Linked DNA regions of Homo sapiens: all the other regions are linked to region 7. The links are contacts of gene promoters, found by promoter capture Hi-C in blood cells and fetal thymus (Javierre and others, 2016). All regions are on one chromosome and are shown on one strand. The core of a region is centred on a gene start or on the middle of the fragment in contact, and the rest is flanking DNA. Distances in the headings are between cores, read along the strand shown. Region 1 overlaps LRP4 (LDL receptor related protein 4). Region 2 overlaps CKAP5 (cytoskeleton associated protein 5). Region 3 holds the start of CKAP5 (cytoskeleton associated protein 5). Region 4 overlaps CKAP5 (cytoskeleton associated protein 5). Region 5 overlaps CKAP5 (cytoskeleton associated protein 5). Region 6 overlaps LRP4 (LDL receptor related protein 4). Region 7 holds the start of ARFGAP2 (ARF GTPase activating protein 2).

Evidence for each region. The method cuts DNA at HindIII sites, captures the fragments that hold promoters and counts their contacts. A CHiCAGO score of 5 or more calls a contact.
Region 1: a fragment that was not itself captured here is called in contact with the fragment with the promoter of ARFGAP2 in region 7 in 9 of 17 cell types (M2 macrophages, M1 macrophages, megakaryocytes and 6 more); the score reaches 13.7 in M2 macrophages.
Region 2: a fragment that was not itself captured here is called in contact with the fragment with the promoter of ARFGAP2 in region 7 in 2 of 17 cell types (erythroblasts and M1 macrophages); the score reaches 7.0 in erythroblasts.
Region 3: a fragment that was not itself captured here is called in contact with the fragment with the promoter of ARFGAP2 in region 7 in 6 of 17 cell types (M1 macrophages, megakaryocytes, M2 macrophages and 3 more); the score reaches 9.6 in M1 macrophages.
Region 4: a fragment that was not itself captured here is called in contact with the fragment with the promoter of ARFGAP2 in region 7 in 3 of 17 cell types (M1 macrophages, megakaryocytes and M2 macrophages); the score reaches 11.2 in M1 macrophages.
Region 5: a fragment that was not itself captured here is called in contact with the fragment with the promoter of ARFGAP2 in region 7 in 3 of 17 cell types (M0 macrophages, erythroblasts and megakaryocytes); the score reaches 6.8 in M0 macrophages.
Region 6: a fragment that was not itself captured here is called in contact with the fragment with the promoter of ARFGAP2 in region 7 in 2 of 17 cell types (M2 macrophages and erythroblasts); the score reaches 6.6 in M2 macrophages.

The regions. Positions count from the first base shown.
Region 1 is chr11:46,902,919-46,906,294 of GRCh38, reverse strand. LRP4 (LDL receptor related protein 4) reads left to right here. Exons shown (of 38, transcript NM_002334.4): 2 at 3,366-3,376. Among named protein-coding and RNA genes, the nearest start is that of LRP4, 14 kb to the left of the region's middle. RefSeq lists an enhancer at 1-366. The HindIII fragment of the contact is 3,483 bases long and covers 158-3,376 here.
Region 2 is chr11:46,764,838-46,768,103 of GRCh38, reverse strand. CKAP5 (cytoskeleton associated protein 5) reads left to right here. Exons shown (of 44, transcript NM_001008938.4): 27 at 441-529; 28 at 2,848-2,973. Among named protein-coding and RNA genes, the nearest start is that of SNORD67, 4.0 kb to the right of the region's middle. The HindIII fragment of the contact is 1,839 bases long and covers 354-2,192 here.
Region 3 is chr11:46,844,795-46,848,199 of GRCh38, reverse strand. It overlaps CKAP5 (cytoskeleton associated protein 5), which reads left to right and starts at 1,920. Exons shown (of 44, transcript NM_001008938.4): 1 at 1,920-1,980. It overlaps LRP4-AS1 (LRP4 antisense RNA 1), which reads right to left and starts at 1,789. Exons shown (of 3, transcript NR_038909.1): 1 at 1,701-1,789; 2 at 1,483-1,590. RefSeq lists enhancers at 1,526-1,645, 2,100-2,677 and silencers at 1,856-1,935, 2,116-2,265. The HindIII fragment of the contact is 8,680 bases long and covers 1-3,405 here.
Region 4 is chr11:46,782,541-46,785,859 of GRCh38, reverse strand. CKAP5 (cytoskeleton associated protein 5) reads left to right here. Exons shown (of 44, transcript NM_001008938.4): 17 at 1,187-1,372; 18 at 2,492-2,586. Among named protein-coding and RNA genes, the nearest start is that of SNORD67, 22 kb to the right of the region's middle. The HindIII fragment of the contact is 231 bases long and covers 1,204-1,434 here.
Region 5 is chr11:46,820,909-46,824,463 of GRCh38, reverse strand. It overlaps CKAP5 (cytoskeleton associated protein 5), which reads left to right. Exons shown (of 44, transcript NM_001008938.4): 2 at 3,196-3,289. The coding sequence starts at 3,233. Among named protein-coding and RNA genes, the nearest start is that of CKAP5, 24 kb to the left of the region's middle. The HindIII fragment of the contact is 8,913 bases long and covers 1-3,555 here.
Region 6 is chr11:46,862,878-46,866,549 of GRCh38, reverse strand. It overlaps LRP4 (LDL receptor related protein 4), which reads left to right. Exons shown (of 38, transcript NM_002334.4): 35 at 1,364-1,431; 36 at 2,015-2,102. The region is part of intron 2 of LRP4-AS1 (LRP4 antisense RNA 1); the gene reads right to left. Among named protein-coding and RNA genes, the nearest start is that of LRP4-AS1, 18 kb to the right of the region's middle. The HindIII fragment of the contact is 5,453 bases long and covers 1-3,672 here.
Region 7 is chr11:47,174,518-47,178,173 of GRCh38, reverse strand. It overlaps ARFGAP2 (ARF GTPase activating protein 2), which reads left to right and starts at 1,295. Exons shown (of 16, transcript NM_032389.6): 1 at 1,295-1,392; 2 at 1,540-1,658; 3 at 2,251-2,323; 4 at 2,861-2,992; 5 at 3,076-3,159. The coding sequence starts at 1,321. PACSIN3 (protein kinase C and casein kinase substrate in neurons 3) reads left to right here. Exons shown (of 11, transcript NM_016223.5): 11 at 128-652. The coding sequence ends at 243. RefSeq lists enhancers at 168-217, 298-347, 195-776, 1,318-1,547 and a silencer at 838-1,267. The HindIII fragment of the contact is 14,588 bases long and covers 1-3,656 here.

The DNA of each region.
Region 1 (3,376 bases), core at 650-3,149, 270 kb after region 7:
TAGTAGAGACAGGTTTTCACCATGTTGGCCAGGCTGGTCTCAAACTCCTGACCTCAAGTGATCTGCCCGCCTCAGCCTCCCAAAGTGCTAGGATTATAGGCATGAGCCACCATGTTCAGCCCCTTGTGGCTTTTTTACAAACAAGAAAACTGAAGCTTAAGGGGCTACGTGACTTGCACAAGGTCAACTGGCTGGTCGATGGAACCCAAGTCTGTCTGCTCCAGGTCCAGTGCTTTGTCCTCTGCCTAACCTCCTCCTCCTATTCCCCCCTACTTCCTCTCTGTCCTTTCCACAGCTTTCATCCTGAACTCCCGTCTGGTACATCCCCACTCCCTACTGTGTGTGGTTAGCAGCATTTCTCAACCTCTGTTGATGTTTTGGGCCAGATAATTCTTTGTCATAGGGGCCTGTCTGCATGTTATAGATTTTTTTTTTTTTTTTTGAGACGGAGTTTCGCTCCTGTTGCCCAGGTTGGAGTGCAATGGCATGATCTCCCCTCACCGCAACCTCTGCCTCCTGGGTTCAAGCAATTCTCCTGCCTCAGCCTCCCAAGTAGCTGGGATTACAGGTGCCCACCACCATACCCGGCTCATTTTTGTATTTTTAGTAGAGACGGGGGTTTCACCACATTGGCCATGCTGGTCTTGAACTCCTGACCTCAGGTGATCCGCCCACCTGGGCCTCCCAAAGTGCTGGGATTACAGGCGTGTAATCCTGTATAGAATTATACACGTTATAGAGTCTTTAGCAGCATCCCTAGCTTCTACCCACCAGATGTCGGTAAGCACCGCCAAGCAGGACAACCAAAAATGTCTCCAAACATTGCTAAATGTCCTCCGGGGGACAAAATATCCCCAGTTGAGATCCTTATTAGCCTTATCCTTTTTCTTCACCATGATACCCCATGAAGGGGATCTGTGTACCGGGGAGTCCCATCACATGGAGTGGAATTAAACATCTTTGCTGTTCAATCCAGCTAGAGTTCACCAAAAGGGTGCCTACAGCTGTGCTGAGCCTGTCATACTACTGAAGTTCCTCAGGCTGTGTTGTCCAGGATCTGAGTGAGAAAAACCCTCCTCCCTTCTCAGAGTTCTCAGGCCAGAAAGGATGGAGTGGGGGCAGGGGCACCTGGGTCTTTTAGTGCTTCCTGGGGAAGAATCCTCTACCCTGCATTTGTAGAGAGACCCGAAGAGACAGGAGCACTGGGCTTGGAGCAAGGCCTTCCTGTGAGGTCTAGAGACACTGCACCTCCCAACTGGACCTCACTTGGCTTCCGCAGGAAATCCTGCATCTTTTTTTTTTTTTTTTTTTTTTTTTTTGAGACAAGGTCTCATCCTGTCACCATGGCTGGAGTGCAGTGGTGAGATCATGGCTCACTGCAGCCTCAACCTCCCGGGCTCAAGTGATTCTCCCACATCATGCTCCCAAGTAGCTGAGAGTACAGGTGTCCACCACCATGCCTGGCTAACTTTTGTAAATTTCTTTTCTGTAGAGACAGGGTTTTGCCATGTTCCCCGGGCTGGTCTCAAAACTGCTGTGCTCAAAGGATCCACCTGCCTCAGTCTCTCAAAGTGCTGATATTACAGGCATGAGCCACCGTGCCCAGCCCAATCCTGCATCTTTTCTAGAGCAGCTGATTACCATAGCATGTGGAGGGAGAGGGCCAGGCCTCAGTTGAGAATCTGGTGAAAGCTGTGATCCCTTACCCCAGAAACGTACATTATACCTGTAGCATCAGGGATTCACAGAACCCAAAAGCCATCCATCCATCCATCCATCCATCCGTCTGTCCGTCCATCCATCCATCCATCCATGCATTGCAGGCTAGGAAGTTTTACCTTATGCTTGCACTTACTCTTGGGGTTGAGATGGAGAGGGAAAGTTCTAGAGCTCTCTCCCTGCTTTTGGAGGGCATGGCAGCACACCTTTTTATCCTGGCCCTAAGCCCTAGGCTAGGCCAAGGAATTATAATGTGAGACAAGGATGTACATCAAGGAGATGAGCTGAGAGAGAAAAGCTGGACCAGGTACAGAGTATAGGAAGAGGGGTGACAATTTCGAGCTGACTCCTTCTCTGTTTCAGCCCAGCCTGAGGGCAGGGTCCAGCTGAGGGAAGGAAGAGGAGAAGAAAGGAAGGGGGAGAGATGAGCCATGCGCTGCGGCCCCCTCCTTCCCCAGCTGCGAGCAGAGCAGCCCAGCGGGTTGGATGAATGCTGGGAGGGGGGAGAGTGACCCTGGCAGAACCCTTTGTTCCAGCTGAGGCTGGAGCAGGGCACTGAGCCATTCACACGCCATCCCAGGGCATCCTGCTGGGCACGCTGGGGAGGGGGCACAGCAGCTGGTCATGGGACTTGGCCAGGCAGATAGCTCGATGCTCAATAGGGAAGCCCAGCTGCGTGCTGCTGAAGCCGGGGGAGAGGCTGCATCTGCCAGCCTTCCTCAAGGCTGTGGCCTGTGCCACAGACAGGAAGGCCCTGGCAGGTCCCAGTTACTCTGCCCTGAGGTGGCCTGGGGGACTCAGAGCAGCCCACCCTGCTTCCTGCTCCCCTGTGTGGATTCCTTATCCTAAAGAGGCTCCAGCATTTTAATTCCACCATTAGTTCTTGCCCTCCCTGGCCAACATCCCAGGGTCTGGTCCAAGACAGAGGCAGAGCGTCCATATCTCAACCTAGTTTTAGTGAGAAGGCTATGGAGGCCTCTCAACATCACCCTTTCTGTCCCTTGTTCCTCTTCTTCAAAAGCACCAAACCTCTGAGTGGCATCATTTTTTTTTGGAGGGGGTTGTTTCTTTTTTTCTTTTTTGAGACAAGGTCTTGCTCTGTTGCACCTGCTGGAGTGCAGTGGTGTGATCATAGCTCACTGCAGCCTTGACCTCCCAGGTTCAAGCAATCCTCCCACCTCAGCCTCCCAAGTAGCTGGGACTACAGGCACATGCCACTACCCTCAGCTAATTTTTTAGTTTTTTGTAGAAACAAGGTCTCACTATGTTGCCCACGATGGTCTTGAACTTCTGAGCTCAATCAATCCTCCCATCTCAGCCCCTCAAAGTGCTGTGATATAGGTATGAGCCACTGTGCCTAGCCTAGGTGGCATCATCTGTTTCTGGGCCCTTAGAGGTGCCATGCAAAAAAGCCCTGTCATAGAGCGGGTCACCTGGACTCTTTGTAAGCCCAAAGTCAGAGGGTATCTGCTGGGTCGTTTATGCCCTGGAGGAGGCATGGTTTTACTGCCTGCATCTCCCTTGAAGTGTCACTGTGACTCTCCAGGTGACAGTGCCCCTGGACTAGGCTCCTCTACTTTCCCCTCGGAATGGGCTTGGGTTGAGTGGGAGCTGAGCCCTCACTGATTCCTTTTCCCTCCGCCCAGGCCTGGCCAGC
Region 2 (3,266 bases), core at 24-2,523, 410 kb after region 7:
AAAATCTAAGCCAGGCACAGTGACTCACGCCTGTAATCCCAGCACTTTGGGAAGCCAAGGTGGGTGGATTGCTTGAGCCCAGGAGTTTGAGACCAGCCTGGGCAACATGGCGAAACCCTGTCTCCACAAAAATTACAAAGAAAATTAGCTGGGTGCGGTGGCACGGGCCTGTAGTCCCAGCTACTAGGGAGGCTGAGGTGGGAGAATTCATTGAGCCCAGGAGGTCAGGACTGCAGTGAGCACCGTGAAGGCACCACTGTACTCCAGCCTGGGAGATAGAGCAAAATCCTGTCTCATAAAAAAAAAACTAACTGAAAACATCTTATAAATTGATACATTTAAGACTGCAAGCTTCCTTGTCATCATTATATATTTAACCTGTCCAAAATAAAATGATATTAGTTAAAGTTTATAGTATATATATATTTTTTTCCTCAAAGCACCTGCTGAAGATTGTATTTCCAGCAGTACAGAACCCAAACCTGATCCAAAAAAGGCCAAAGCTCCAGGATTATCCTCTAAAGCAAAGGTATGTTAACTCTGTATACTTCGATGTAGACTTGCTTTTAAATATATTTTATATACTGAGTCATTCTATTAGGAAGGATCATATTATATATAAAAGAACATCACTGCTGTTGATATTATCAAATTATTTATACAAATTTCTGTGGTTCATTTTTAATAAGGTCCTAAAACGGAGACATCCTGCTCTCAAGAGGTGCTGTCATCTTCCTTTCATGTAGATTTTCGGGGAAAGATTTACTTTATTGAAAGAAGAAAGGGCCGGGCACAGTGGCTCACGCCTGTAATCCCAGCACTTTGGGAGGCCGAGGCAGGCGGATCACCTGAGGTCAGGAGTTCGAGACCAGCCTGGCCAACATAGCGAAACCCTGTCTCTCCTAAAAATACAAAAATTAGTTGGGCATGGTGGCACACCTGTAATCCCAGCTACTTGGGAAGTTGAGGCAGGAGAATCGCTTGAACCCAGGAGGTGGAGGTTGCAGTGAGCCAATATCTCGCCATTGCACTCCAGCCTGGATGACAGAGCGAGACTCAGGAAAAAAAAAAAAAAGGAGAAAGCATTTGTAGCTCTGGCATAATAAACACTTTAGGCTGATTTGGATTTAAGAAAAGGAAGTTAAATCAACCTCCTTCAAATTTGGCACTGTTGTCATCATATTAGAAGATGTTTCGGTTAGTCTGCAGGGAAATATCTTTTGTCCCAGTGGGATTTATTTTGATGCATCAGCAATTCTTTCAATATTCATGGAGAGTTGGACAATTTAAAGCAGTGTGTTCAAATGTTCAACTTTATCCTCTGGGTGATTTTTTCATTTAATTAAGTTTTAAAATCACAGTAAATTGTCATTATCTCTATCAAGATTGAGATTAATAAACATATTCAGAGTGTTAATTATTTAACACTTACAAAAGGAAAATTGCAAAACTGTGCAATGGGTAATGAATCTAATAGTAAGTCTAAATAGAGAATTATTTAATTTACTTCCTGTAATTGATGAAAAAATATAGAGAATGTTTTTTAACCAGTACATGTATTATTACACCCCCATTTTGGAGTACACACTCTAGGGCCTTTCTTCTAAATATTACAATTAACCATTTTTCTTCCCTATGCTCAGGCCCTTTAACTCCTCAGTGAATTAATTTAAATGGGTAATTATCTTCAACTATCCAATGACGTTGTTCTTTTCCTGTCTGCCTGTCCTCATCCCAAATTTAACAAGTGCTTATTTTAGTTTAGATCACGAGTGTTTTGCAGTATTTTTGACTCCGTTCTTAATGCCATAATTTTTTTCCCAATCTTTTTAAACTTACGAAGCAGTTTCATATAAATGATCTCATATTTGTTTGGTCTGAATGACATTAGTGTTTATACTAGAAAGAAATTGTGGCCAACTAGAAATAGTGGCCATGCTACATTTATAATAATAATGATTCCAGTAATGAAATTTGAATTTTACCTTAAATATGTGTACTATTGTTTACTATTTTCTTTCTATCTGATATGAAGATTTTAAATCTTGGATTATTTTTTAAAACCACTTTAGTGACTTAAATATTTAAAGCATTTCTTGTAACTTTCTCTAGAAGCAAGTTCAAAAGGTCTTCAGTTACACTGTTATGATAAGAGATACATTTAAATATCAATGGAAAGAAACAGAAAAGCTTTCAAACTAAGTGTTTGGAAATGTGTAAATGCCATTCAAGATGTCATTAATGGCTGAGGTGGGTGGATCACTTGAGGTCAGGAGCTCGAGACCAGCCTGGACAACATGGTGAAACCCTGTCTCTACTAAAAATACAAAAATTAGCCAGGGGTGGTGGTGGGCGCCTTTGGTCCCACCTACTGAGGAGGCTGAGTCAGGAGAATCACTTGAACCTAGGAGGTGGAGATTGCAGTGAGCTGAGATCACGCCACTGCACTCCAGCCTGGGCGACAGAGTGAGACTCCGTCTCAAAAAAAAAAAAAAAAAAAAAAAGATGTCATTAATATGGAAAGCTATAAATAGTGTTGAAGATTTCAAGAAAACAAAAACAAAAAGTTTGTGACCTAGACTAATGATCAGTAATAGCAGTTTTTCCAACTACATAACATGCCAGTCCAAGAACTAACCAACAGTTACTTAAGAATATTCTCAGAAAAATTTCTAGAGAACCTGTTCAAAAACATATACAAGATTCTGTGATGCATGTTTTTTTCATGTGAAATATCACGTAGAAAGATATCTCTGTTTTCTACAGTGCCCTTTTACTGGGCAGCAGCATCATATTCTTAAGGAGAAGTGGCCAAGCTAATCAGTATTCCCTGAACCTTGGTTGTAGAGTGCACAAGGGAAGAAGATGCCAAGCAAAACCAGCTTAAAGGAGGATGAAGACAAATCCGGGCCTATTTTTATTGTTGTTCCAAATGGAAAAGAGCAAAGGATGAAAGATGAAAAAGGATTGAAGGTAAGGAAGGATTAAGAATCGTCAGGAGATTTTTGCTTGTATTGTTATTCAAGAATAGTTTTGCTGTCTGAATTCATGTTATTGTTTAATATCTAGGAATTAAGTGTTTCTTTTGCTTATAAATTATATTATTTAGTTTATGGGAGCATTAATTCCTACAAAAGAAACTATAGAATAGAGTTATTGCCTATTTTTCCCTGTAAATAGAAATAAATGATTTAGTAGCTTTTTTGGTATCTTCATTGATTTTTTTTTTTAATTAATTGGATGTATAAGCTTCTTCATTAATCCTT
Region 3 (3,405 bases), core at 303-2,802, 330 kb after region 7:
GTAATCTCGGCACTTTGGGAGGCTGAGGCAGGTGGATGACCTGAAGTCAGGAGTTTGAAACCAGCTTGACCAACATGGTGAAACCCCATCTCTGTTAAAAATACAATAAAAAATAATTAGCCGGGCGTGGTGGCAGGTGCCTGTAATCCCAGCTACTTGGGAGCCTGAGGCAGGAGAATTGCTTGAACCCGGGAGATGGAGGTTGCAGTGAGCCAAGATCACGCCATTGCACTACAGCCCGGGTGACATGAGAGAGACTCTGTCAGAAAAAAAAAAAAAAAAAGCCGGGTGCAGTGGCTCACGCCTGTAATCCCAGCACTTTGGGAGGCCCAGGCGGGAGGATCACGAGGTCAGCAGATCAAGACCAGCCTGGCTAACACAGTGCAACTCCGTCTCTACTAAAACTACAAAAAATTAGCCAGGTGTGATGGCACGTGCCTGTAGTCCCAGCTACTCAGGAGGCTGAGGCAGGAGAATCGCTTGAACACGGGAGGCGGAGGTTGCAGTGAGCTGAGATTGCGCCACTGCACTCCAGCCTGGGCGACAGAGCGAGACTGTCTCAAAAAAAAAAAAAAAAAAAGCAGTATTGCAGTAAACATCCTTGTACATTTTTCTTTGCATACTTGCACAGATCTGTACGATAAATTCCTCATAGTGGATTACTGGGCCAGAACTAGATTATGTACATTTTAGTAACTGTCAAATTGTCCTCCTAAAGGTTTGTACCAATTATACTCTTACCAATATTGACTTTGAGTGTCCATTTTTCCAAATCTCTTTATATTTTTAAAAACAGAGATGGGGTCTTGATAGCAAGACCCAGGTTGGTCTTGAACTCCTGGCCTCAAGCAATCCTCCTGCCTCGGCCTCCCAAAGCGCTAGGATTACAGGCATAAGCCATTGCACCCAGCCTGTTTTTCCAAATCTTGACCAACCAAAGGCTGTTGAACTTTTTCATCTCTGCCAACTTGACAATGAAAAAACATGTAATTGTTTCATTTACTTTTATCCATCCTCTCTCCATCTTTTAGCCTGTTGGGAATCTACACATTCTTTAAATCCTAGGTTAAAAATTCATCTTCCTCACAGATCCTCCCCCATCAAATTTCTCCTGTCTCTAAGCATTTATAGCTTTTCATTTATACAGTTATTACACTGCTTTGAATTTTAGTGACTAGTCTGTATGTTATATTCCTCCAACCACTGTAGATTACAAATTCCTTGGAAGTAAGGACCTGAACTCATTCACAGAAACACTGAATGTAGAGCTAAGCTAAAATTCTGGAGATCATGTTAACCAAGCCTCTCGTTTTTATAAGGGAATATTAAGCATTTGCAGGATGCGTTACAGTTCACAAAGGCTTTTCTCAGACATTCTATTAGTTATATTAACTCCTCCATTAAATTGTAAGGGAAACATCGTTATCCCATTTTACAGATAAGGAAACAACTCCAGAAGATTTACTGAGAAAAGTGATTTACTCAGAACAGTTCCAAGGTCAGAATCCAGCATCCTGGCTTCATTCGCTGTTACTTCCACGACATCTCAGCTGCCTCTGGTTTCCCTCACAGCACTTAGCTTCACAATCTCTAGGGAATGAAATGACCAAAAAAAATTGTCGGGTGTTGACAGCAGCCTGAACATCTGTAATTAAATAAAGCAAACATGCTGACGACCAAGGATGCCCGGGTCTACACACATTCTTTCGCCTTTCTTTCTGGAGTCGGCAGACTTGCCCCCGGCAGCGACCAGCGTCCCCACCCGTGCAGGCGGCGTCTGGTCCAGAGGGAAACACGGCTGCGCGCGGCCCCTTTAAGGCTGCGGGCGGCGCGTGCCCACAGGCCTTTCAAATGGACCAATAAAAGTCCGATGGGCGGTCCGTCGAGGACCAATAAAGAACGAGGACACTGCGGGGTGTGCGGCGGCCCAAGCGGTTTCAAACGGCTTAGAGCAGGCCGCTTGGTTCTGACCCAGCTGAGGTGAGTGGTCGGTGGGCCTGCCCCACCCGCGAGGCCCTCGAGTGCAGGCATCGCGCGCGCAGAGGAGCCCCTGAATCCTGGGCGGCTGGAGGTCTCCAGACGCGCGCCCCACTTGCCCCACGAACCCGGCAGGTCTGAGGCGGCGAAGCGAGCCGGAGGCCGGGGGACCTGCGGCGGGCAGGGCCGGGGGCGTGGGCGCTCGTGTGCGGCGGAGGCCGGGGTTGGGCTCCAGGTGGCCAGAGCGCGCCGCAGCGTGGCGCGGGTGGCAGCGTCCGCGGGGCGCGGGCGGTGCAGGGCCGCGCCTGGCGGCAGCGATTTACCAAGACTAGGGCGGGGGCCCCGAGAGCCGGCCCTGCTAGAGTGCCTCTCGCGTAATTGTCAAGTGAATGAATAAGTAAGCGCCTACGAGGGCTGTGGTGGTTGCGAAGGGCCTTGTCGCCCTGGAGCAAGGACAGCGGCACCGGGGCCTGGCCGCACACCTGTGTCCCTGCTGGCTTGCTGCGATGTGAACGATTCCGATCATCCACCACCCCGCCCTTAACGACTGGCTTTCTCTCTCTCAACGTGTCGGGAGCGTTCTGGTGTCCTTCCAGCCCTGGAGGTGTTGGGGAACCAATACAATAGCCAGCAGTGTGGGTTGGGCCTTGCTACTTTAAGGTCGGGCTCGGTGAACTAGATTCTTACTTTTGAGCTCTCCCCTCTACTTGTAATCGTGGTAATTGTTGAGCAGGATTGAAATGCATTCCGTTGTGTTTCTTGGATAGAAAATGATGAAAGGGTTGTTGCCAGAGTGGCTAGTGTGTGTTAGAAAATATATTCGTGTTGATGAATCTTAACAATGAGTTTTTTATTCAGCATCAATAGAGGTTGAAGTGGTTTTTGCAGAACTTGCCCCAAATTTATGCGTGGCTCTAATTTAATTCTCATGGGACCAAGGCATCAAATCTTGGCCCAGAAATGCTGCCTGTCTTATGCATAATTATAGTAATTGAAAACTCATTTTTAGAAAGGTGAGCTCCTCCTTCCTCCATTTTCATCACCCTGAAAAGTCCTTCTTTTGACCTAAAGAGCCAATAAATTAAGCTAAGAATCTTTTGAAACTTTAAGAAATTGTAGAAGACTTTGACTTCTCTGAAGTGACTGGACAAACTGTAATGCTTTTACCAAATTTAATGATATAGATAAAGGTGAAATCAATTTATTTTGCAACCATAAGTTAAATCTAGTTGGTAAACTCATGTAAAAAAATTTTTAAATAAGATTTTAGGCTGGGCGCGGTGGCTGACGCCTGTAATCCCAACACTTTGGGAGGCCGAGGCGGGCGGATCACGAGGTCAGGAGTTTGAGACCAGTCGGGCCAACATGGTGAAACCCCGTCTCTCTCTCTCTCTCTCTACTAAAAATACAAAAAATGGCTGGGCGTGA
Region 4 (3,319 bases), core at 70-2,569, 390 kb after region 7:
GATCCTCCCACCTCAGCCTCCCAAGTAGCTGGGACTACAGGCGAGGGCCACCATACCCAACTAATTTTTGTACTTGTTGTAGAGCTGGGGTCCCTCCATATTGACCAGGCTGGTCTTGAACTCCTGGGCTCAAGCATTCCCCTCGACTCAACCTACCAAAGTGCTGGGATTACAGGCATGAGCCAGGCGATAATTGCATTTTAAAAGAGGATGTTTGTGTGGCTGGGCACAGTGGCTCACGCCTGTAATCCCAGCACTTGGAGAGGCTGAGGTGAGATCCCACTTGAGATCCACTTGAGGTCAGGAGATCGAGACCAGCCCGGCCAACATGGTGAAACCTCATCTCTACTAAAAATACAAAAATGAGCCAAGCGTGGTGGCGGGCGCCTGTAAGTAATCCCAGCTACTTGCGAGGCTGAGGCATGAGAATCGCTTGAACCCAGGAGGCAGAGGTTGCAGTAAGCTGATATCTCACCACTGCACTCCAGCCTGGGTGACAGAACAAGATTCTGTCAAATAAATACATAAATAAATGGGAGTATTTGTCACCTAAATTAATCTGTATAATAGGATTTCTAGTGGCGTAACAAAAAAAGTTAAAATATTCACACAGTACAAAGAAAAATATTTATGAGCAAAGGGGTCCTTAATCCCATAGGTCTGCCATCACAATAATATCTTTAAATTATTTTCCACAGATCTTTTTATTCTTATACTTAAAAGCCAACAAGTTCTCTAAAATCTCTGAAGTTCTGTGTTGCATGTGTGTATAAGAGGGTTGTAGTGTTTTTGTAGGCAGCCCTAGTAGTAATTCTCAGTTATGCAGTCAGTATAGTAATTTATTGTGTATTTTAGGGTGTGTATTCAGTACTAAATGCAAATAATCATAAGAGGAGGAAAATTTAAAAATCAGATTTTTCAATTAATAAACTTTCTGTGCAATATTACTTGTTAGTATTTTGGAACACTGAGTAGCTTTTTTTCCCTCTCTTCACTGTCAGTTAAGTAATTGGTAACAATTAAAGGATACAAATTATTTTGCATATTTGTTTAAAATCCTGATTTTACTTTAGTTGTGTTTCCAGCTGTCCCTAACCATGTCATATCTGTTACATGCTGTTAATACAAGTAAATAAATAAATGTCCTTGGCTTGCTCTTAGCTTTATGATACTGATCCTTGTTCAGGTGATGCAAATGAAGCTTCATATAGTTGCTTTGATTGCCCAGAAGGGAAATTTTTCCAAAACGTCAGCTCAGGTTGTATTAGATGGCCTTGTGGACAAGATTGGAGATGTGAAATGTGGGAACAATGCAAAAGAAGCTATGACAGCAATAGCCGAAGCCTGTATGTTACCATGGACTGCTGAACAGGTTAGTGACACAGAAGTCTTATTCCTCTAGTTTTCCCAATTTTTTCCCCCAAACTTTAAGCTTACTAATTAAACATTAGTTTTTATCTTCTCAAGTAAAATCTTTTTTGATACTGCATTTTTTTTGAGATGGAGTTTCACTCTGTCGCCCAGGCTGGAATGCAATGGTGCAATCTCGGCTCACTGCAACCCTCCCGGGTTCAAGTGATTCTCCTGCTTCAGCCTCCCGCATAGCTGGGATTACAGGCACCTGCCACCACGCCTGCCTAATTTTTGAATTTTAATAGAGACAGGATTTCGCCACGTTGGCCAGGCTTGTCTCGAACTCCTGACCTCAGGTGATCTGCCTGCCTCGGCCTCCCAAAGTGCTGGGATTACAGGTGTGAGCCACCATGCCCGGCCCTTTGATACTGCATTTTTATTTTTACCTTAAAAAATACTCTATTGCCTAGTGATGAAAATTCATCTTAGTCAAAAATATTCGGTCAGACACAGAGGCTCACACCTGCAATCCCAGCACTTTGGGAGGCCGAGGCAGGAGGATGACTTGAGGCCAGGAGTTTGAGAGCAGCCTGGCCAACATGGTGAAATCCCGTCTCTACCAAAAATACAAAAATTAGCCAGGCGTGGTGGTGCACACCTGTAATGCCAGCTACTAGGGAGGCTGAGGCAGGAGAATCACTTGAACCTGGGAGACAGACGTGGCAGTGAGCCGAGATCACGCCACTGTACTCCAGCCTGGGCAACAGAGTGAGACTGTCTCAAAACAAATAAACAAAAAATTCTATAGAAGGTGAAAGCCCACGAGCTTGAGGCTGCAATGATTGATGATTGTGCCACTGTACTCCTGGGTGACAGAGCAAGACCCTGTCTCTAAAAAAAAAAAAAAAACATTATAATGCAGAGTAATTGCTGCAAAGCTATAAATAGTCCAGAATGCCTTTAGTCCTACTATCATTTCACCTCATTTTCTTGTGTAGGTTCACTCTTGTTCCTAAGGCATTCTTGCAGTTGTTTTAGCGTCAGAAAACTAGTTTAATGCACATCTGCCTTAATGTCATGCTGTATTTCTATAAGAAATACGAGATAAAACACAGATCTGCTGTTTTTCCCTTTTCAGGTTGTGTCAATGGCTTTCTCACAAAAGAATCCCAAAAATCAGTCAGAAACTCTGAATTGGCTATCAAATGCCATAAAAGAATTTGGTTTTTCTGGGTAAGTCAGAACGAAATCAAGTGGAAAATAGTTAAATGTTCTGTCAGTCTCTAAGTCGTGCTGTTTATAATAATAGCTATTGCTGTTTATTTCTGAAGAGTGAGAGCTGGATTGTCTCATTTATATAAAAGAAAATTACCTTTGTTCTCAAAGGTCTATATTGGCTTGTGTTCCTGCTTTTTGATGTTCACTGAAAGAGTTCTCTACGTTATTTTTCCTTAAGCATTAATAGCTGTCCCACAGAAAATCCAGTTCCAAGAATTTCTAGTCAAATACATTAGGAAATTTCTGTATATAATTACATTTGTTTAAAGACCTATAGTATGCCTTGGCGAATTAACTGCTGTCAGAAATCCTGCAATAGAAGAGCTTGTTTAACTTTGTTTAACCCACTGTTCCCAAACTTATTTGCTTATAGAGCACGGTTGTTTATTTAAAACAAAACTTTATACAGTTTACTTTATCCCAGGTACTTTTAAAAAGCACTTTCTAAATCATAATTCATTTGATTTAATCATCATAACAACTAAGCGAGGTATTATATTATCCCTATCTTATAGATGAGGACTAAGGCACAGAAAGTTTAAGTAATTTGGGCCCATCATAGTTAGGAAAGTGGCAAAACCAAGATTTTAATCCAGGCATTCTGGTTTGGAGAAAGAATGATGTAGCTGCTATACTATGTTACCTTTCTCTGTGCCATGCTACATTTTGCAACATGCCTGTTAATATC
Region 5 (3,555 bases), core at 714-3,213, 350 kb after region 7:
CTTCTGGTGTAATTTGCATCAGTTTCTAGGCTATACACCTAGGAATGGAGTTGCTGGGTGGTAGGGCATGTGTATCTGATAATGCCATACTGTTTTCCAGACTGTTAAACTATTCTGTCTCCCATCATTGGTGTATTTGAGTTCCTGCAGATTCTCCTGACTCCTTTAAATTACACTGCTGCTGTTTCATGGCAATCCTAGGGATTTTGAAGAAAAATCTTAATGAAAGTTCCACATATCCTAATAAACTTTTACAATTCCATCTTTCTCTGGGACATTTTCTTCTTTGCCATGGGAGGGAACAAAATGTAAAGGAAGAAGCATAGACTATGAATCTTAGTTTAATTTCATTGCTTACCAGTTTTGTTGTTTTGGCAGGTTACTTAATATTTGTGAAGCTAGTGTGTAAAATGAGAATATCTTTCCTTCACATAGTTGATGTCAGTATAAAGTGAATTAGCGTGTTTAAAAAGTACTTTGCACCATGCCTGATTCAGAATAGATATTACCAGAGTATATATTCAATAAACAAATATTTATTGAAAACATATTTTATGTCAGGCCAGAACTAGGGATGGAGAATTACGGAGGACCGCTTCTATGTTATTAATAATATTGAAAAATCGGCCAGCCTGGGCAACATAGTAAGACCCCATCTCTACAAAAAACTAAAAAATTAGTTGGGCATGGTGACATGTGCCTGTAGTCCCAGCTCCTTGGGAGGCTAAGGCAGAAGAATCACTTGAACCCGGGAGGCGGAGGTTGGGAGGATCACTTGAGCCCAGGACATCAAGGTTGCAATGAGCTGTGATCACACCACTGCACTCCAGCCTGGGTGACAGAGTGAGACCCTGTCTCAAAAATGAAAAAGAAAAATTGGAAACAATTTAAATGTCCAATGGTAGGGTTGGTAATTATGGTACATTTGTAAAATGGAGTGCTATGTAGACTTTAAACATCATATTCTCAAATCTGGGAAAATGTTTGTGATCATATAACAAAAATGTTGTAAGGGGATTATGCCTGTCTTTTTCATATGATTTATATTACTACATGTGTATTGAAAAAAAACTGGATACGTACTTTAGTGTTCATCATGGTTATTAGGTGGTGGTAAAATTGTATTTTAATACTTAGATTTTTTTCTGTAGTTACTAAATTTTCTGCAGTTTACACACATTACTTTTATAAGAAAAAGGTGTTGTCTAGATAGATAGCATAGGGGTGGGTGCGGTGGCTCACGATCAGTGGGATCACTTGAGCCCAGGAGTTCGAGACCAGTCTGGGCAATATAACGAGACCTTGTCTCTACAAAAAATTTCAAAATTAGCCGAGCATGGTGGTGCACACCTGCAGTCCCACCAAATCCTAGCTACTCAGGAGGCAGAGGTGGAAGGATCGCTTGAGCCCAGGAGGCAGAGGTTGCAGCGAGCCAAGATCGTGTTCATTCCACTCCAGCCTGGACGACAGAGCAAGACGCTGTCTCAAAAAAAAGAAGATAGGTAGCATAAAGTTATTAAAAGGATGTTGACTTTAAACCTCACTTAAAAACATGGTTTACATAAAGAATATGTATAAAGGTTCATTCAGGGATTTAATTTTGTACTTGTTTATATAAACATTGACTAGTCATGTTTGCTAGAATTAGGGAGCTTGGCAGTATCAACATTTTTACATATTGATTCTTTCCTTTTCTTTCTTTTTTTTTTTTTTTTTTTTTTTGGGACGGAGTCTGTTGCCCAGGCTGGAGTGCAGTGCGATCTCGGCTCACTGCAAGCTCCGCCTCTCGGGTTCACGCCATTCTCCTATCTCAGCCTCTAGAGTGGCTGGGACTGCAGGCGCCAGCCACCAAGCCCGGCTAATTTTTTGTGTTTTTAATAGAGATGGGATTTCACCGTGTTAGCCAGGATGGTCTCGATCCTGACCTCGTGATCCGCCCGGCTCGGCCTCCCAGACTGCTGGGATTACGGGCGTCAGCCACCACACCCGACCCCCATATTGATTATTTTCTATAAGTAATTCTAGGTGAAAGTATGACTTTTTCCAAAACTTTTTTCTTGGCCTTTTAAAAGGCCATTTAGCTCAGCAATTCAGTTTTATTCCAGCTTCGTTTTATATCTAAGAAGTTCTTATTTGGGAAAATAAAAGCATCATTTTTTAGAAAACAAATTTTTGGTTTTTTTGAGACAGGGTCTTGCTCTGTTGCCCATGCTGGAGTGTAGTGGCATGATCACAGCTCACTGCAACTTCTGTCTCTTGGGCTCAAGTAGTCCTCCCACCTCAGCTTCCCGAGTAGCTGGGACTACAGGCACACACACCACTACGCCTGGCTAATTTTTGTGTTTTTAGTATAGATGGGGTTCCACCATGTTGCCCAGACTGCAATATATTTATATTTATATTTTTTGAGTGACTTTATTTTTTTGAGATGGAGTCTTACTCTGTCGCCCAGGCTGGAATGCAGTGGGACAATCTTGGCTCACTGCAACCTCCTCCTCCCAGGTTCAAGCGATTCTCCTGTCTCAGACTTCCGAGTAGATGGGACTACAGGCCTGCACCACCACACCCAGCTAATTTTTGTATTTTCAATTGAGACGGGATTTCACCATGTTGACCAGACTGGTCTTGAACTCCTGATCTCAGGTGATCTGCCCACCTCAGCCTCCCAAAGTGCTGAGATTACAGGCATGAGCCACCACTGTGTCCTGTCTTTTGAGTGACTTTAAAAAAAAAATTCTATTGGCCGGGCGCGGTGGCTCACGCCTGTAATCCCAGCACTTTGGGAGGCCGAGGCGGGTGGATCACGAGGTCAGGATCGAGACTGTCCTGGCTAACATGGTGAAGCCCTGTCTCTACTAAAAATACAAAAAAATTAGCCGGGCGTGGTGGCGGGTGCCTGTAGTCCCGGCTACTCGGGAGGCTGAGGCAGGAGAATGGCGTCAGCCCAGGAGGTGTAGCTTGCAGTAAGCGGAGATCGGGCCACTGCACTCCAGCCTGGGTGACAGAGCGAGACTCCGTCTCAAAAAAAAAAAAAAAAAAAAAGTCCTGTTAATTGAATTAAGTGGGGATCTGACGAAAGAACGGGATTTTTACTCTTGTTGTTGCATGAATGATAAAATAATAATCTCAGAAAAGTTATTTTTGTCTTAAGAGACTGCCTGGTTGCTAAGCAGGTTTCTACCTTTATCTGACCAGGAAATACTCTTAATTCTAAGGAAAACCTGGAAGCACAATGGGAGATGACAGTGAGTGGTTGAAACTGCCAGTTGATCAGAAATGTGAACACAAGGTAAGATTCTTCTGGAATTCGATTTTCAGTGTCGTTGGCTTGTTTTGTGAGCAGTTATACTATCATCTTACTTAGAAGTGTGTGAAAACATTGGCAGTTTCAAAAATACTGATGCCTTGTTAGATATGTTATTTTTTCTCATTGAAAATAGGTTTCTGTAGCTCAACTAAAAATTTTTTTGTCTCTGGAAAGAATTCAAAGAAAAGATATTAGTGAAGTGAAAAGTAAGTGGTATCTATGAAAAGTAACTGGCTAGTTTTTTCATC
Region 6 (3,672 bases), core at 251-2,750, 310 kb after region 7:
CTTTGGGAGGCCAAGGTGGGCAGATCACATGAGTCCAGGAATTCAAGACAAGCCTGGGTAACATAGTGAGATCCTATCTCTACAAAAAAGTTTTTTTTTAATTAGCCAGGCATGGTGGCCCATGCCTGTAGTCCCAGCTACTTGGGAGGCTGAGGTTGGGAGGATTGCTTGAGCCCAGGTTTAGGCTGCAGTGAGCTGTGATTGTGCCACTGCACACCAGCCTGGGTGACAGACTGAGACCCTGTCTCAAAAAAAAAACAAAAAACAAAAAATAAATAAATAAATAATCTGGAAATACATATGTGAATAAAGAAGAAGGGAATATCCTATACCTATATATAATTTACTCTTAATGTTTTGATGTCTATCTTTTCTAGACATTTTTCTAATTAGAACAGTTTTTTTTTTTTTCCACTGCAACATACTGGTCTCTTTATTTTTAATATCATCAGTAGCTTACAAGGTAGTTAACACTTGATTTCAATTCTGAAAGCAGAAACATAATAATGATCCCAAATAAAAACTTTAGACTCAATGTCCCTAAAGTTACAAGATTTGCACATGATCAAATTCATATGCTGTGTGCCCCCATTCTCTGTTTTTACTACAGTTTGTAAAGAAAAGGAAACACCCAGGTATAAACATGTGCCTTTCTCACTAACTTTTAAGTACTATCAGTCATTATTACTCTCGGATTTTCTTTAGGTTTATTTAGAAAACTTTTGACCCCGCTCGGACCTTTTCTTATTGTCAGAGTTCTATTTGAAAATTCAGTGCATCTTGGTTCCAAATGCTCTTGCAAGTAGCTTTCCTCTGGCTGTTTAGGAGATGCCTTTGATTGCCTGCTCATAATGTACCACAAAGAAGTCACCTTCTGAGCATTTCAAGTTAGTTATCTGAGCACTCCCTCTGGATGTCTTGCATATTCCCTTGTGAAAGAATGAAGAGAAGAAAAACATTTTTTGACCTTGGGATATTTAGCTCTTGTGATAATTTTTATCCAATCAGATTGGCTTGGCTAGCAGCTGCTTCTGACTCATCCTGGTAGTTTAAGAAAGCCTAATATTGATGTCCTTAGTATTCTTTCTGCAGACTTCCAACTCACTCCCAAACCTGCTTCTCATTTTTAAAGGTACATATTTTATAACACACTTAAACATGGTATAACGGCTTGAAAACAGTGCCTTGCACGGATTTCTCTCCATTTCCTGTTGTTGCCCTCTCCATGCTTCTGATGTCTTCCATCTTGTACATTCTCATACCTGAAAGCCCCCACTTACAGGCCTTTCCCCCTTTCCTGGAGGAAGGCATGACCTTCACTGAGTATGAGTAGGCTTCACATCCAGTTTTCTGTGCCCCACAGATGCTCTGAAAGGGATGCCAGGCTGGGCCTCTGTGCACGTTCCAATGACGCTGTTCCTGCTGCTCCAGGTAAGCCCTGAGTACCCCACTGTTCCGGAAAAGAAGATGTAATGAATCTAAGTCTCCACTGATATCTTTCATAACCTTCATTGGGACTCTGGGGTTGATGAACTCTTTTTAAACTAAGTCCATAGAAATAATAATCATAATAGCTCTCACCACTTACAGTGACAGCTTATGGTATGCTTTCCGTATGCCAGGCATGTGATAAGCCATATATATGCCACATTATATGTGTGTGCACATGCATATATACATACTCTCATGTAATTTCCTCCAGTCCTATGAGCAATTTATTATTTACATTTAACTAAAGAGAAAATGTAGGCTTACAAGTTAAGCATCTTGCCTTATGTCAGATAGCTAGGAAGTGGTCGAAATGGGATCAGAGATGCTGGCAGAGTGACAGATTTCTTCTCAGCCTCCTCCCTGCACCTCCCATTTACCTATCTGAAAAGGAGGCCCTTAGCCATCCTCAGATGGTATGGGGTCCAACACCTACAAAAGGAGCCTTTCAGCTTTCCATTCCTCACACCAGCACCGCTAGAAAGTTGTCGGTGGCCCCTGCCTAGTGTTTCTCTATTCTTCCTAGGGGAAGGACTTCATATCAGCTACGCCATTGGTGGACTCCTCAGTATTCTGCTGATTTTGGTGGTGATTGCAGCTTTGATGCTGTACAGGTAACTTCAGTCTTGCTACAGGGGCCACATGCTCATTGGTCTTCATGAGCATGTCTGGGATCTCCCGAAGCTCTGCAGTTCACTGAATCAAGCTCTGACCAGCCTTATTGCAAGGTTGGGTGCCTGGTCAGGGCAGCAGAAGGAAAGGGTGGAAACCTAAATACTTACTCTTCTCCAGTCACAGCCTAAGCATTTTCCTTATTGAATGACTGTAACAACCCTTCGGATTTTCTTTATAGACTAGGATGCTGAGTGCACAGAGGATATTACCCAAGGTCACAAAGTAAGAGGCAAATCTAAGACTGACTCTTAACATCTTTGCTTTTTCCAGTACTCCCTGCTTCAAACCACTGAAATTGGAAATGATTTTCCCCTTATACAAACACAGCCTTTTACTACAATATTGGTTTGTACATCTTTGCTCAGTAGCAATCATTCTGGAAAGGTAGAATGTGTCATTTATAATCTTTTTATGTCCCTCTTTCTTTATATTTTCCCCCAAATGCTTTAAACGTAGCTTACAGTTTGCTGCTGTTGTTCTTCATCATCATCATCGTAACAGTTACCATTAATGGATATATATCAATGTCATGACAACCTCGTAACACAGGTATTATTATTCCTCACTTTACAGATGAGGATCTGAGGCTCAGAAAGTTTATTTTTTTTAATTTTTGTCTTATTTTTTTGAGATAGAGTCTCACTCTGTTGCCCAGGCTGGAGTGCAGTGGTGCAATCTTGGCTCTCTGCAACCTCTGCCTCCTGGATTCAAGCAATTCTTGTGCCTCAGCCTCCCAAGTAGCTAGAACTACAAGCATGCACCACCATGCCCAGCTAATTTTTTTTTTTTTTTTTTTTTTTTTGTATTTTTAGTAGAGAGAGGGTTTCTTCCATGTTGGTCAGGCTGGTCTCGAACTCCTGGCCTTGTGTGATCTGCCCACCTCAGCCTCTCTAAGTGCCAAGATTACAGGTGTGAGCCACCGCACCCAGCCAGAGAGTTTAGATTATATCTATCAAGGTCCCAGCTAATAAATCACAGAGGTGGAATTGAAACAGATCTGTCTGACTCTAAAGCTCAGTGCATCAGTTCTCCATTGCTGCATAACAAATTACCCGAAAACTTAGTGACTTAAAATGACAACCATTATCTCACAGTTTCTATGGGTCAGAAATCTGGATGCAGCTTAGCTAGGTGCCTCTGCCTCAAGGTGTCTCACAGACTGCAATCCAGATATCAGCTGGGGTTACAGTCTCATCTCAAGGTTTGACCGGGGAAGGATCCCCTTCCACACTCACTCACATAGTTGTTGGTAGGATTCAGCTCCTCATAGGCTGTTGGCTGGAGGCCTTCCTCATTAGTTTCTTGCCTTGTGGGCCTCTCCATAGGACAACTTACAACATGGCAGGTTGCTTCTCCCAGAGCAAGAGCAAAAGAGAATGAGGGAGGGCAACTCAAGACCAGAACCAGTTTCTTGGTAACCTAATCTAGTAGCCATCACATTTGCATAATCTTTTCATTAGAAGTAAGTCACCAGAACAGTCCACACTCAAGGGGAGGGGATTCTTAAGG
Region 7 (3,656 bases), core at 46-2,545:
CTCTGCCTGAGCCATGTCTTTGCTAGCTGGGCTCTGGGACCACACCATCCCCCTCAGTCCTTGACCCAGTTGCAGGAACAGGGCCTGGGCCAGGGCCACTGGCAGTGACCAATCCCCTTTCCCCCAGGGGAGGAGCTGCTGAAGATGAGTGAGGAGGACGAGCAGGGCTGGTGCCAAGGCCAGTTGCAGAGTGGCCGCATTGGCCTGTACCCTGCCAACTACGTGGAGTGTGTGGGCGCCTGAGTGTCCTGACAGCCCTTCTGCAACGTTTACCCACCCTGGTTCAGAGCCCAGCTTCTCCTGGAGAGCCGGACCCTCAGGGCCCTGAACCGTCGCTCTCTGGCTGCTCCTCTGTCCCTTGAGGGAGGAAGTCCTGGGACCCAGGGAGGGGAGGGGCCTTTGTCTAGGGAAGGGACTGGTAGGGAAGGGACGAGTCTAGGCTGAGGGCAAGATGGGAGGTCAGAGGTGACAGAAGCGTTCAGGGGTGCCTGGGCCTCCCCAGGAGCTGTGGACTCAGTTCCTGACCTCTGCTTTGGGGTTCCTGGGGTGGGCTTGGGGTGAGTGTAGTTCTGGCCTAGCAGCACCCTCTTGTGGCTTGTTCTAGCGTGTATTAAAACTTGACACACACCCACACACAAAAACAAAAACACCACTGTCGGGCTCATGTGCATTTTTTTGATAGGACACCCTTGCCAGGCCACCAGAGGGCATCTAGAGAGAGGCCTAGCGTCTGTTATGGGGCCGGGGTTGGAAAAGGGTTTGCCTGCTTGGTACCTGCTCTGGAACTTCGAGATACTAATCTGGAGTGGAGGGGACTCGCTGTCAGGCTTGCTGTTAACCGAGAACGGCTGAAGGCTGGGCGAGACGCGGGCCAATGCGTCTGCCCGTTCGGGCCGGAGGGACGAGGAGTGTTTGGGCAGCCTAATCCTTATTCATCGATCTGTAATTAGCTGGAGTGGGGGTCCCCGCCCCCAGCCTCCCGCAGCCTGCGCGGCGTGGGGGCGACTCCACCTGGGGGTTGCGGCGTGGGAGGGGCGGGGGGAAGGGTACTACGCGCGCGAGGAGGTTTGGGCCGGTCCGCGCGCCGTCGCCCCGCCCCGGCTGCGGATTGGCCCGGCGCGGCGTTGATTCTTGCGGCCGCGGTTGTCGTCGCCGCCCCCGTCCCGCCGGCTGCCCATTGGTCCAGATCGGACTCCAATCACCCCACCCCTCGGCTGGCCCAGGCACCGCTGAGGCCGGCCTGGTGAGCCCGCCCTCCCCGCCGTGGATTGGCCCGCGGCGGGACCCGTCAGCCGCGGTTGTGTCTGGGAAGGAGAGAAAATGGCGGCGGAGCCGAACAAGACCGAAATCCAGACTCTTTTTAAGAGGCTTCGCGCAGTTCCAACCAACAAGGTGCGTGAGCAGGGGGCGCGCGGAGTCTCTCGTCCCGCTGGGGCCTGAGGGAGGGAGAAGGGCGGAGGTGGGTTATGTTTCTGGGGTGTCGGTGCCTGGCCTTTACTCGGGGCCCCTGACGATTCGCTCATCGCCGCCTCCACCCAGGCCTGTTTCGACTGCGGCGCCAAGAATCCGAGTTGGGCCAGCATCACGTACGGTGTTTTCTTGTGCATTGACTGTTCCGGGGTGCACCGCTCCCTGGGCGTCCATCTGAGCTTCATCAGGTAGGCTCTCCGCGCGGTTGCCGTGTTTCCACCCGGCCGGCCAGGGGTGTCTGGGCAACAAGGGAGAGTGGCTGCCTCGACTTGGGCCGCTCTGAATTCGGTGGGAAGCCTCTGGGCCGAGAGGGTCCGGTAGCCTCCTGCCAGAGGGAACCACCTGTGTGGGCCCTTTGGCACATGGGCGGTCCGTCTCCGCCTCTGGGCCAAAACTTCCTCTTTTTTGACGGTCAGGCTTGAGACTCTGAGCGTTAGTTGAGGGGAAAGGGAGGCATTGACCTTGTTGTTGCTGATATGTTGTTAGACCAGTATGTCTCTAGTGAGACTGTGACCATCCATTAGGGGAAAGCCAAATCCAGGCGTGCGTGCCTGAGAATGTGACCTCCTTTCGGATCTGGGGACATAATTAGTACTCTTTGGAGTAAATGAACGAAGAGGAGAGTTTTCATGGACAGGGTAGTGTGGAGGAAATGGGGTGATGGCTGATTAATGTTTCCTGGGTGCCTACAGCAGCCTGAGGCCAAGTGACAGGTATCCGGGTTGCCAGGGAAATCCTGCTGGTATCTGCTAGTGGGTGAGACGCAGCCCTTGTACACAGGTCCACAGAGTTGGATTCCAACTGGAACTGGTTCCAGCTGAGGTGTATGCAGGTCGGCGGGAATGCCAATGCGGTAAAGCTCCTTCTACTTCCCTCACCTTCCATTCTTCTGCCTGGTTACTAACTTTGCACGACTCCCTAAGAGGCCCTGTCGTTTTCCCTGTTCAGAGGGTTCTCTGTTCTATAACACCACCATAAGCTATTTTCTGAAAACTTCGAAACTGGTCACAGCTTCTCTTAAATGGGTTTCAGATTCCAATTAAACTGGGCAGGTGTTCTTGGGGAAAAGCCACAGGAGTTGGGAGCCTTCACAGTCATTGGGTCTTGTGGGCCTGCCCTGGATGAAGGATGGGGAGGCTGGGTATGGGATGTTGTGCTCAGGCAGCGTTCAGTGGGGCCTGGACTTCAGTCATATCAGAGGATGGCCCGCTGCAAGGTGTTTTTTGCAGGAATTTCGAGAAACTTTATCTCTGAAAAACCGGTGTCAGTAGCGTGTATCATCCTGTATAGATAATAACTTCGCTGTCATAAGGAGATGTCTCCTACAGCCAACACGTTTCCTTCTTGAGAATCACCCGTAGCACGCGCTGCTCTCTTCTTTGCTCTCCAGACGGCTTTTTTTCGCCAACATGGATGCACAGCCAATGATGCCAACACCAAATATAATAGCCGAGCTGCCCAGATGTACCGGGAGAAGATCCGGCAGCTGGGGAGTGCGGCCCTGGCTAGGCATGGCACTGATGTAAGTGCCTGTTCTTGGGGCTGGGGCAGGAGGGTTAGGAGTATTCAGAGCCCTGTGTTTTAGGGGTGTCTTCTCCTTTCTAGCTTTGGATAGACAACATGAGTAGTGCCGTTCCTAATCACTCCCCAGAGAAGAAGGACTCTGATTTCTTCACAGAACACACTCAAGTGAGTGCCCACAAGGAACCGTTTTCCCAGTTGTTCTTGACAGGCAATTTACCAAGGCCCAGGCCTTCTGTGATCATGGTTGTAGATTCCATTTGCTTTGATGTGATGTCTTGGACACCACGTATGAAGTCCACTGTTCCTGCTGGGTAGGCCTAGGTGTTTCCTCCTCCATAAATGGAGGTGCAGTGTAGCCCTCCTTAGAAATCGACTCCTATAAATTGGGCTGGCGGGGAAGAGAGGCAGCTTCTTGAAGTTTCAAGAGGTGTCCGGTGCCCCAAACAAATTTTCCTGGATTCTTCCCCTATAAGAAAGGCACTGTGGGCCGGGCGCAGTGGCTCACGCCTGTAATCCCAGCACTTTGGGAGGCCGAGGCGGGTGGATCATGAGGTCAGGAGATCGAGACCATCCTGGCTAACAAGGTGAAACCCCGTCTCTACTAAAAATACAAAAAATTAGCCGGGCGCGGTGGCGGGCGCCTGTAGTCCCAGCTACTTGGG